4 separate regions of the Homo sapiens genome follow, and regions 2, 3 and 4 are each linked to region 1. The links are contacts of gene promoters, found by promoter capture Hi-C in blood cells and fetal thymus (Javierre and others, 2016). All regions are on one chromosome and are shown on one strand. The core of a region is centred on a gene start or on the middle of the fragment in contact, and the rest is flanking DNA. Distances in the headings are between cores, read along the strand shown.

The links. Contacts are between HindIII fragments. The CHiCAGO score rates a contact against its expected background, and 5 or more counts as called.
Region 2: a fragment that was not itself captured here is called in contact with the fragment with the promoter of POGLUT1 in region 1 in 9 of 17 cell types (total CD8 T cells, fetal thymus, megakaryocytes and 6 more); the score reaches 9.2 in total CD8 T cells.
Region 3: a fragment that was not itself captured here is called in contact with the fragment with the promoter of POGLUT1 in region 1 in 4 of 17 cell types (megakaryocytes, total B cells, naive CD8 T cells and 1 more); the score reaches 5.4 in megakaryocytes.
Region 4: a fragment that was not itself captured here is called in contact with the fragment with the promoter of POGLUT1 in region 1 in 1 of 17 cell types (monocytes); the score reaches 6.3 in monocytes.

What each region holds. Positions count from the first base shown.
Region 1 is chr3:119,467,538-119,470,785 of GRCh38, forward strand. POGLUT1 (protein O-glucosyltransferase 1) reads left to right here and starts at 1,426. Exons shown (of 11, transcript NM_152305.3): 1 at 1,426-1,569; 2 at 2,283-2,373. The coding sequence starts at 1,485. RefSeq lists enhancers at 1,090-1,590, 1,283-1,452 and a silencer at 1,503-1,702. The HindIII fragment of the contact is 3,798 bases long and covers 1-2,050 here.
Region 2 is chr3:119,295,896-119,298,987 of GRCh38, forward strand. All of the region lies in intron 1 of ARHGAP31 (Rho GTPase activating protein 31), which reads left to right. It also overlaps the pseudogene RPS26P21. Among named protein-coding and RNA genes, the nearest start is that of ARHGAP31, 3.1 kb to the left of the region's middle. RefSeq lists an enhancer at 1,820-1,889. The HindIII fragment of the contact is 3,536 bases long and covers 75-3,092 here.
Region 3 is chr3:119,323,760-119,326,565 of GRCh38, forward strand. The region is part of intron 1 of ARHGAP31 (Rho GTPase activating protein 31); the gene reads left to right. Among named protein-coding and RNA genes, the nearest start is that of ARHGAP31-AS1, 2.4 kb to the left of the region's middle. RefSeq lists an enhancer at 1-386. The HindIII fragment of the contact is 1,357 bases long and covers 783-2,139 here.
Region 4 is chr3:119,623,342-119,626,201 of GRCh38, forward strand. It overlaps PLA1A (phospholipase A1 member A), which reads left to right. Exons shown (of 11, transcript NM_015900.4): 9 at 1,783-1,891. Among named protein-coding and RNA genes, the nearest start is that of PLA1A, 27 kb to the left of the region's middle. RefSeq lists an enhancer at 784-983. The HindIII fragment of the contact is 5,078 bases long and covers 1-2,860 here.

The DNA of each region.
Region 1 (3,248 bases), core at 176-2,675:
CGGAGGTTGTGGTGAGCCGATATTGAACCATTGCACTCCAGCCTGGGCAACAAGAGCGAAACTCCATCTCAAAAAAAAAAAAAAAAAAGAAAATAGATAAATATTTGTAGTTCTATGATTACTAAATATATCTACACTGACCTATATATACCTGTATAAAGATATATACCTGTACTATACTATATACCTATATTGTCCAGTATCATGTTGCCCACTGTCAAGAAACAAAATTTCATCAAATTTAGTTTAAAGTTCTTGGCCAGGCATGGTGGCTCACGCCTGTAATCCCAGCACTTTGGGAGGCCGAGGTGGGCAGATCACCTGAGGTCAGGAGTTTGAGACCAACCTGGCCAACACGGTGAAACCCTGTCTTTACTAAAAATACAAAAATTACCCGGGCATGGTGACACACTCCTGTAATCCCAGCTACTCGGGAGACTGAGACAGAAGAATTGCTTGAACCCGGGAGGCAGACGTCATAGTGAGCCAAGATTGTGCCACTGCACTCCAGGCTGGGCAACAGAGTTAGACTGTCCTCTGTCTCAAAAAAAAAAAAAAATCGAATTGGCTTTTATTAGTGATTCATGAATCAGGCAGCATCTCATCTATAAAACAGAAAAGTGTTCTAATGAGCTGAGCAGAAGGGGTTGGGCTTATAGGCAGAAAAGGGCTGAAGAAAGCAGAAATAAGGAACAAAAAGCAGATTGGTCATTTTGAAGTTACTTTCCTCAAAGAGTTACATCAGAGGGGACTTCTTTATCATGCCAGCTCAGGTATATGGGCCCCTTCTCCTATTTGTTGGAAAACTGACCCCTTTTAAAGCTGAGTTTAATTACGCAGCACCTAGGACAAGTTGCCTCCATTCTGGTTTTGTCTGCTCTCTTGAGGCCTAGTGCCAGAGTTCTGTCCAAAACAACGACCTCCCATAAACTTTATTTAACACCATTGATCTTTTTTCCTACGTCTAAGTCACCCCAACTGTTATAAATTCCTATTACAAAGGGATCCCTGCTATGCTAATTGCAACCTTTGGGGTCTAACCGTGCTGTACACACACACACACACACACACACACACACACACACATGCTCAACAAATTTATGCTATTTGATAAGAGGCAATTTGACGTCAAGAGAAGAACTGTTTGGCCTAGGCTCTATGCCAAGTCTTGGTTGTGCCACTAACCGTGAAACATACCCTCTCTGACCTTCAGTTTTCTGGCTGCAGACCTATTTTCCCAGGGGTGCCAGGGAGGGAGGATAGGCAACTGGTCCATTCGTTTATCCTCCCCACCTTCCCGGCGCAGCCTTCTCAGGGAAACTCCGCCTCAAGGCTGGGGACTGGAGGAAGGGTGGTGGGGCCACGGTGGCCATCTTTGTGCGGGGCGACCCGCCGCCCACGTGCTGCGGCTCCCGGGCCATCTTTGTGCGGGGCCGCGCTTCCGCCAGCGCCGCAGCGGGGAATCTGCAGTAGGTCTGCCGGCGATGGAGTGGTGGGCTAGCTCGCCGCTTCGGCTCTGGCTGCTGTTGTTCCTCCTGCCCTCAGCGCAGGGCCGCCAGAAGGAGTCAGGTGGGCTCCGGGCAGTGCCGAGCCTGCCCCTTGGGCTCGGGGTCTGGCCGGAGTCCCGAGGCGCTCCCCCGCGCGGCCGGCTCCCGGGAAGATGCCGTGGCCGCTGTAGCTCGGAGCTGGGCAGAAGGCACCGGGGCGCCTTGCGGCGGAGAGTGAGGTGCCGGGGTCTCTGCTCCTGCTCTGGACCCTGGAGAGTAACCCATTCCCCGGAATTCAGAATGACAGGGAGGAGAGGGAATTCCCCGTTCACCCGCAGGAGGCGTGGCCCGTGCTTGGCTACTCTGGACCTGCCTGAAACACTGAGGGGTCGGGGATGGGGGCAAATGTCGTGCGCGCGAGCGTGTGTGTATATGCGTTGCCAGAAGAGAAGAGGGGTTTAATGTCTGTAGCTTTTAACTGATCCTCTTTGTGGAGTTCAATTTGATTAGTAGAAAGTGAGAGTCCGCGTCACTATCCATAGCATTCTGAGGGTTGAGCATTAAGCTTGGGAATTTTCCAGTTTCTTGGACACCTGACAGCCGGATAGAGGAACAGACTTGACGTGAGCGTGGGAGTTGCACACACAAAAATTCCTCCCTAGCGTTTCGTTTCCATCAGTGGGATGGGAAGGGGATTTCTGAAAGTTTTGGTCTTCTGTTTCTTCTGTTGGTGTGGTGTCAGCAAATAACATTCAGGAAAATTTTTTTAACTCTCATTTACTTCACTTTTTAAAGGTTCAAAATGGAAAGTATTTATTGACCAAATTAACAGGTCTTTGGAGAATTACGAACCATGTTCAAGTCAAAACTGCAGCTGCTACCATGGGTGAGTTCTTTTCTTTGATGTGTCTTTGAGAGTTTAGTTGCTGTCACAGGAAGTATTCTAACATCCTTGAGAGATTTTGGTTGCAGTGGTCAGAAAGGCAAGGATGTTTTTCTATTTCTGGGGAATAAAAATGCTCTCGCATGGGAAAGGCTCAGGTGGTGTCAACCTAACCACTGACTCACTGCGGGATTCAGTGCATGTGCATCTGTTTTTCCCACTGGGCTGCAAGCTTCCTGAGGTCAGGGTCTGTGTCTTATTTGCTGTTGTCTCCCTGGTGCTAGCTGTCAGTGCGTGCTCGATAAATATTGTTGAGGAAATAAACCCATCTATCGCTGAATCTAGTCCTAAATTTCCTGATGGTTATCTTTAGAAAATGCACATCAGGCTGGGCATGGTGGTTCATGCCTGTAATCCCAGCACTTTGAGAGGCCAAGGCAGGTGGATCACCTGAGGTCAGAATTTCGAGACCAGCCTGGCCAACATGGTGAAACCCTGTCTCTACTAAAAATACAAAAATTAGCTGGGCATGATGGCACGTGCCTGTAATCCCAGCTACTCGGGAGGCTGAGGCAGGAGAATCGCTTGAACCCGGGAAGCAGAGGTTGCATTGAATCCAGATCATGCCACTGCACCCCAGCCTGGGTGACAGAGTGAGACTCCGTCTCAAAAAAGAGAGAGAATGCACATCAGGGCCGGGATGAGGTATGGTAGAAAGATAACTCTGAAAACAGACTTGGGTGTTGGTGCCGGTACTCCCACTGGTTACCCCTGTGCCGAGCCACTTCAACTCCTCTGGGTCTCAGATTCTTCATCAGCTAAATAACAGGGTCTTTTAAGCTCCTTTTTATGTTATTTTTGACTCCTCAAAAAATTCC
Region 2 (3,092 bases), core at 593-3,092, 170 kb before region 1:
GAGCATTAAATGACTCCTTTTGTAAGGTTGACTGGTTTTGCACTTACCCTTGACAAAAAGGCCTTGTCTTCAGAAGCTTCAGCGAGAGGAAAATAGCCTACTATATAGGCCATGTGTTTATACATAGATAGATACAACAAAGGGGAAAACTAAGGGCTGTGTAACCGTGCGGAATAATTCTGCCTCCAGGAAAATAATCTCAAAACCTATTTGATTAGTCCATATCGAATATGCATTTCAAAAACAGTGCAATGCTTTTGTTTCACTTCTGTGTTTTGGGAGACTCAGCACCACCTAGTAATTTGCAGTGGTGTGATATTCCTGTGGTATTCTAGAGTTCAGTCTGCTGTGTCATTAGGACAAATAGCTTAGGATTTTAGAGCTTGGAGAACCACAGGTTTCAAAACTGACTCTTTTGAAATTGATGCATAACTTAACACTTCATTGAATCCTCACCAACCATCTGGAGAGGTAGATTTGAGATAAAAATCACTTGGTTTGAGTTTTTTTGAGTGTGAGAAAACTCCAAGTATGCCTCTTAACCACTATCGTCAGAAGTTTACAATGAAAGGTTCCTCTTCACCTATTTTTGCAGGGGCCTTCAAGTTAACCTCCAGGTACACTAGGAATGCTCCTGGGATGCCACCTTTCACCATGCGGGTGTTATTCTGGCCCCTCCCTCAAATCTGTGAGAGTTGCATAGGGGTGCTTGCCAGCCCTGTTCGTTCTTACAAACTAATAGATTATAGGATGAGCCAGAACCCCAGGGTTCTATGAAGATATGTCAAAGGCAGCTTTAGGCAGCTGTTCTTTCACCTGCTTTATATTTTGGGCTTCTGCATATGTTTCATTTAGACAAAAAAAAACAGAGACTACTGCTTAAAAGAATGGCAAACCAGTACCCCGGGTTCCCCACCCTGGGGAGGGGGAAAAGAAGCCCAGAGGGGTAAATTGGCCTGCCTGAGGTTGTACAGCTAATCATGAAGGATCGGAGGGCCCTCCCTGGCCTGTTAGGTTCCTCTGCCCTCCCTGGCTTCTGTGTCTAAGCCAACATTCTCTTCTAATGATATTTTCCCCCTAAATTGAAAGCAGACAGCCCTGCTACAGGATCAGCAAACTTTGAAGACTGAACATACCTGATGAGAGTTCAGCTTTGAAAGGAAACGCAACTGACCCACTTAATGATCCACACACTGTTATTGTGCTACACGGAAATTAGACATGCATAATATACTGCTTATGGAAATAAGAGTAATTAGAATTTATTTTTTCCCTCAGCTAAAACTAGTTGGATGGTTTTTTTCTGTGTATTTGTGATAGTGTAGCATCAATGAACAAAGTCAGTGCTAATGGTTTTCTCTAAAGTAATGTTGCTTCTTTGTGGACTCTCCCAAACATGTATTGATTCATAGACAAGGCCTGGACTCTGCTTCTGGGAGGAAAAGCTGAGCTGGGAACTGGCCCTCTGCCCACCACCTTGGAAGATCAGCCCAGAATGCTGAGGGTGACAAGTCAGTGTGGTAACTGGGAGCCAGGGGGCTGGAGAAGGGCTCCCTGGACTGACATCATGGTTACTGAACTTTGAAGGTCAAAGGTGGTGCAGTAGACCTGCATTGAGAGGAAAGATAGGTTCAGGTTTGGGAGTACAAGGGGAGAAGACCAAAGATTTAGGGAGGCAAAGAGAGCTCCTGTCTTTGGACAGGGAAGGAAAGCCTTGAGTTGGAGTGGAGGACAAAGCGGGGTGATGATGAGCTATGCTCAGGGCATCTGAACATGGGGACGCCACATGCTTGAGTGGGAACTTTGGAGAGACAAAGGCTGAAGACAGAATGAATGTCATATGCTTCTGTAATTTGCTGAGGCTCAGCCCTGCTACTTTCAGCTGGACAAACCTGACAAGGCTGGGTGTGTGGTTTACAAATAGGTGTTCAGCTTAGGGCAGACATTGCTCAGGGCCAGTTGTCAACCTTAATCTTTGGGAAGCTGATGAGAAACAGAAACCCTTTCCTTAGAAACACACACACACACACACACACACACACACACACACCGTGTATGCAATTTCTGCAGGTATCTACATAGATGCCAATTTCAGACCCTGCTGTGATCACCCCTCACTGGCTACACAGGGGGGCCTGATATCCAGGACCAATTTTCCCCCTTCTTTGACCACTTTTCTCTAACTTGGTAAGAAGGGAGCAATGAACACTCTTAGCCAGGTAAGAACACTCAAGAATGGCATGAAGTGGCTCCTGGCAGACTTGCCAAGAGCCTCTTGCACTTCCCCTCCAACACAGTGGCTGCTGCCCCCAACCCCCAGCTCTCCCCTGGGAACCAGCTAACTTTCTCTTCCTGTCTGGAATAAAGGGAGATCATCCCTTCCTTACTGCTGCTGCTGAAAATAGTATAGTTTTCTTTTTCTTTTCTTGACCACTGAATAAGAAGGCCCTTGCTTGCAGCTGTATAACGAAAACCACATCATGTTGCTGTCTGTGGTTGGGAGGTTGTGGGTGAAGCTCTGCGAGGTCATAATGTGCCCATGGTTGTTTCCTACCTCTCCTTCATATGCCAAGTGTTCTGGGTCTTCTATTAGAGCTTGGAGATGGTTGGGGCCAGGAGCCAAGAGACAAGTAAGAGAGAGTTATAGGGAAAATTATCTTCTTCCTCTGGGTTGGCTTTACTTTAATGGCTGAGGATTTTCTTGCTCCTCTGAGCAATCTTTGTTTATTTTACCCACTCCCTGGTAAAAAGTGATACCGAGCTTCCAAGCTGACAAAGAAAAGAAGGGGCGACGATTGTGCCAAAAAGGGCTGCAGCCACGTGCAGCCTGTTCGCTGCACCATCTGCGCCCAATGCCTGCCCAAGGACAAGGCTATTAAGAAGTTCCTCATCCAAAACACAGTAGAGGCCACCGCTGTCAGGGACATTTCTGAAGCAAGCGTCTTCACCGCCTATATACTTCCGAAGTTGTATGTAAAGCTACATTATTGTGTGAGTTGTGCCATTCACAGCAAGGTAGTCAGGAATTGATCTCGTGAAGCCTGCAAGGACCAAACACTCCCACCCTGATTTACATGTGCAGGTGTTGCCCT
Region 3 (2,806 bases), core at 211-2,710, 140 kb before region 1:
CAAAATGGAGATGATGTTTAATAGAAAATGTTTCTATAACTTTTGTGGCTTACTTTTTGAAAAGCGAGGGAGGGACTTTTGTCCTTCCCTCCTCGCATCTCAGTCGCAGTGCTGGTTCACAATCAGGCTGTTAACGCGGTTTCCACATTTCCTGTCCTCCCCCTTCCCCTTTCCTGCTGGGAATAAGAAGGTGGGCCCCCAAGGAGACAGAGGGTACACTCGTAAATGAAAAAGAAAAGTCAGCACAAGGACCCTTTGCTGCGGAGATTTCTTTTTCCAGGTATCCTAAGTGGGGCTCTTGCCATCCCTGCCATCCCTGCTCTACACCGAAGGGGTGAAGTCCTGGGACTCTGTTATGCCCATCTGTATGTAATCCTAGGCAAGATTATTACAGTAGCGCTTTCCTCTTTTTAGAATATACCCTTGTCTAGCCCCTACCCCATCTTCAGGACAGTAAAGGTTCTCAACTCACTTCAAACCCTCCTAGCCGTCTAGAACAGTGGCTCACAACCGCAGACCCATAGGAAATGTAGGGCCATCTATGTAATAAATTTATCCGGATGTATTATAACAATTTTAAGGTTACACTTGTCCTTTCTTGAACAGGACAATTCTTTATTCTAAGACTATATGCTTCATAGTTTTAGTTATTTTGAATTGTCCATTCTGTTATGAAATACGATAGTTATTGTTGGTTGATGTCCTCTCTCAGAAAAATAAAAAATTAGCAGTCCTAGGTAGATCCCCCAAAATCTTTTAAACTTGATCTGTGAAATCCAAAAAGCTTGGGTACCATTGCTGTATTCCACATGTGGTTCACATCAAGGTTCCTTGTCCCTCCCAAGGAGATTTGTAGCTATTAAAAGAAACAAACAAACAAACATAAACAACAAAAACCCTTTCGAGAATCAGATCCTCAAAGAATGTTTAAGGATAGACGTGGAAAAACAAAGAGTGGGGAGAGGAGTCTTTCTCTACTCTCAACCCCTAGCCCTTAGTGTAGGTGAAGGCAGCACAGTTGTATCTATTCTAACTGGTATTTAGTATTGAGCATAACTTTTAATGGACGACTCCTTTTAGTAAAACAGAGAACCAATTTTGAATAAACCAAGGTCTCTTGGTCTCTCAGTTTGCAGATCAGCGGAATGGCTAAATGAAGGTGCTATACTTTACTTAAAAGGTGAAAATGTGTCATTTGGGTAAGCAATAAGCAGTACTCCTCATGTCAATAGTGGCATAGTGTGGACTTATATGATGCCGTCTTAAATTAGGCCTCATTGGTTAATGTTTATTGAACACTCTCAGTGTGTTTGGTGCTAATTAAAATATCTTCAAGTCACAGAATCACTGCCTTCTAGTAACTAGTGATGCAGCAAGCTGTAACTGTTGAATCATACCTACCTATATCAACACAGATACTACACATGCATATTCATCTTTTTTGGATGCTAAGATAAAATTTTGCTTAAAATTCTTACTTAGTTGTGTGGGAAGTAGGGGAAAGGAAGATTTTTAAATTTGAAATGGTTGTCCTAGGATAGGAAACCATCGCAGCTGTCATGCACATTAATATTTTAGAAACACATTCACATATCATCTCTGTTGATCTTCCCAAGACGCTGTGACTCTACAGGCTGATTTCAGAGATGTTGTTCCCCCTTTACAGGCAACATATTTTAGTGGCTTGCCCAAGGAGGCTTACCTAAGGCCACACTGCTGGGTCGGGAGTCTGCCCTGGGTCTGCCTCTTCCCACTCACACTGTTGCAGTCCTGTATTCTGGGAAGGCCTCTATGGGCCAGTCCCAGAGCCTTTGAACCAGGGGAGAAAGGGTGGAGGGGAAGCTAGCTTCTCCTAGTTCTGTATACCCAAGAATCCACCTGGTGGGGATGGCGGGGGTTGGGGGGGAAGGGGGGGACGGAAATGACTTAGCCTGAAGGCAGGCTGTTTGACAGCTAGGGCAAAACAGTGGCGAGAAGAAACTCAGGGAAAGGAGAGAGGAGCTACCAGTAATTTTCAAACTTCGCTTAATATTAGAATCACCTGGGAAGTTTTTAAAAATTTTTTTTGATGCCTAGCTGTCACCCATACTGATTAAATCAGAATCTCTGAAGGTGGAACTAGGCATTGGTATTTTTAAAAGCTTCCCAGGGCTGGGCACGGTGGCTCACGCCTGTAATCCCAGCATTTTGGGAGGCTGAGGCGGGTGGATCACCTAGGGTCAGGAGTTCAACACCACCCTGGCCAACATGGTGAAACCCGGTCTCTACTAAAAATGCAAAACATTAGCCGGGCGTGGTGGTGGGCGCCTGTAATCCCAGCTACTCAGGAGGCTGAGGCAGGAGAATCACTTGAACCCAGGAGGCGGAGGTTGCAGTGAGCTGAGATCATGTCATTGCACTCCAGCCTGGGCAACAAGAGCAAAACTCTGTCTCAAAAATAAAAGTAATAATAATAATAAAAAGATTCCCAGGGTTTTAGAGTGTGTAGGCACATTTGAAGACAAGTGGCCTACAGCGATGCTCAGATTTTTGTGTGCATTTTCAATCACCTGTGGATCTTGTTAAAATTAGGGTCTGGTACAGTCAGCTGAGAATGTGTCGTGCTACTGTACAGATCCAGAAAAAGGAAACACTGGGTGCTCGGTGGTCAGGAAGAGTTTTGTGAAGGAGAACAAGTCTGGGTGGGCTTTGGACATTGTGTAAGATCTAAAACTTAAGAAAGTATGAGAATAGCATTCCCCTCTGGGAAATGAGACAGAGGCCTAGAAGTGGAAACGTCCAAGATATGTTTCAGGGGACCCTGCTG
Region 4 (2,860 bases), core at 265-2,764, 160 kb after region 1:
TTGCCATGTGGCCCAGGCTGGTCTTGAACTCCTGGGCTCAAGTGATCTGCCCACCTTGGCCTCCCAAAGTACTAGGATTTCAGGCATGAGCCACTATGCCTGGCCTGTAATCTTTCTTACCTTCTCTTGCCAGAGGGACAGCAGGTCCCAGGGGTATCACCATGGCCCAGGCTGTACACCCAGTCTATGTTGGCGACACTCACTTTGAGAGCTCCAGTGTCCATGCTGCTCAAGGGAGAGTCTGGATGCCACATAGGTAACCAGCGGCTGCAGGGAGAGGAGCAGTCTCCTACACACACAGCCTGCTTCCCTGACGCTGGGTGTGTGGAGAGGGAGCAGGGCCGTTGCTGTATTTAATGAGTTAATTCTCTCTTTCTTTTTTTTTTTTTTTTTTTTTTTTGAGACAGAGTTTCACTCTTGTCACCCAGGCTGTAATGCAACGGCACCATCTCGGCTCACTGCAACCTCTGCCTCCCGGGTTCAAATGCTTCTCCTGCCTCAGCCTCCTTAGTAGCTGGGGTTACAGGTGCCTGCCACCATGCCTGGCTAATTTTTATATTTTTAGTAGAGACAGGGTTTCACCATATTGGCTAGGCTGGTCTCAAACTCCTGACCTCAGGTGATCCACCCGCCTTGGCCTCCCAAAGTGCTGCGATTACAGGAGTGAGCCACCACGCCTGACCTTATGAGTTAAACCTTTAGTTTATGTCTTAGTCTACTTGTGCTACTATGACACAGTACCTGAGACTGGGTAACTTACAAAGCTCAGAAATTTATTTTCCCACAGCTCTAGAGGCTGGGAAGTCCCAGATCAAGGCGCCGGCACTCCATGTCTATAAGGGTTGCACTTTCTGCTCCCAAGAAGGTGCTTTGCTGTTGCATTCTCCAGAGGGGACAGATACCGTGTTCACACACAGCAGAACGCAGGAGGTCAAATAAGGGCCCTGCCAATTCCCTTGAGCCCTTCTATAAGGCACTATTTCATTCATGATAGTAGAGCCTTCATGACTTAATCCCTTCCCTCAAAGGCCCCACCTCTCAGTACTGTTGCACAGAGCATTCAGTTTAAACATGAACTCGGAGGGGACACAAACAAAAGATAGCCGTATATGATAGATGCATTTTGGCTCATTCAAGATCATCCCACCATGAATATGTCAGCAAACAAGGGGAAGTAAAACATTAGTATTACAAAATAACAAAAACTAACATTACTGAATGCTTCCTAGGCACAGGCACTGTCCTGAGAAGTTCATACATATTAACCCACTTATTTCAGACCTAGGGTATCTATTTTTTTTTTTTTTTAGACGGAGTCTTGCTCTGCCGCCCAGGCTGGAGTGCAGTGGTGCAATTTCTGCTCACTGCAAACTCTGCCTCCTGAGTTCAAGCGATTCTCCTGTCTCAGCCTCCTGAGTAGCTGGGATTACAGGCACCCGCCACCACACCTGGCTAATTTTTATATTTTTAGTAGAGATGGGGTTTCACCATGTTGGTCAGACTGGTCTCAAACTCCTGACCTCAGGTGATCCACTCGCCTCGGCCTCCCAAAGTGCTGGGATTACAGGCGTGAACCACTGCGCCCAGCCAAGTGTCTATTTTTATTATCCTCAATTTGCACTTGAGGAAACTGAGGACCTGAGATTATAGGTGATCTGCTCCTGGGCACACAGCCACTAAGAGATAGAGCCAAGATTCCCAACCACACTGCTGCTCTCTGGGGTTTTTGCCCATTGCACCTTCTGCCCTCTGGCCAGTCTCTGTTGTGCTTTGGTTTCCTAGTGCATCACAGCCTCGTGGAGTTTCACTTGAAGGAACTGAGAAACAAGGACACCAACATCGAGGTTACCTTCCTTAGCAGTAACATCACCTCTTCATCTAAGATCACCATGTACGTAAGTGTCCCACCTGGTTGACTCCTCCCCTTAGGAGTTGGTTACTTTTTCATTTTACACACATGGACATCCCAGGTCAGGGACTGTGTGATTGCTGATGCATGGGCCCAGCCGGCTTGGCTGGGGGCAGCACCTACTATAGATCCAGCCACAGACACATGCTGAGGAGCTGTTCAGTAGTGGGTCCAAGTATAGCAGATTCAGATGAGAGTAGGCAGGGCAAGCAGGCAGCAGGGATGGCATGTCCCAACAGATGGAGAGGACATAGGAATCAGGTCCCTGAGAGGAAACAGTACTCTGGAATCCAGACAGTGCGGGTATCAGGGATGTCAGTAGGGAGGAGGGCCTCAGTCACCAGCCCAGGAAGGGCTAGCCAGAGCCTGGAGAGCACCCACTCCTGGGAAAGGAGAGCAGTTCTGGGTCAGTTACCAGAATGGAATCTGAGGCACAGGGTCAGTCAGCAACGGAGTGCGAGCTGAGGGCCAGACTAGCGGCCAGGAGGGCTTGGTGCTGGGTGATTCCTGAAACTGGGGGTAGTCATTCCCTTCCTTTGTTGGGGCAGACTTGGGCTTGGGGGCTGGTGGGACTACGCTTGAAGTGAGAGGGCAAGGAACCCCAACTGTAGGGAGCCACAGCCTGCAGGGGATAGGAAGTCAGCAGCCATGGTGCATGCTTCTTTAAAAAGCAACCGGTTAGTTATTCACAAGCCAGCGGGAGACAGATTGTCAGATAATGTCACTGTCTCAGTGAGAGTCCGGTCAGGAAAACAGAGGAGGTCCAAGAGAAGGAATTTAGCACAGTGAACTCATTACAAGTGTGTTGGATGAGCTGGAAAACAGAGATGGGGACACAATGCAGAGATTAATCACAACAGGAGCCAATACAACCCTAGGCTAGAGGGACAAAGCAGGAGTGGAGTTGGCAAAGCTGGGTCCACAGGGAAGGCTGCTTGGCAGGAGCTGAAC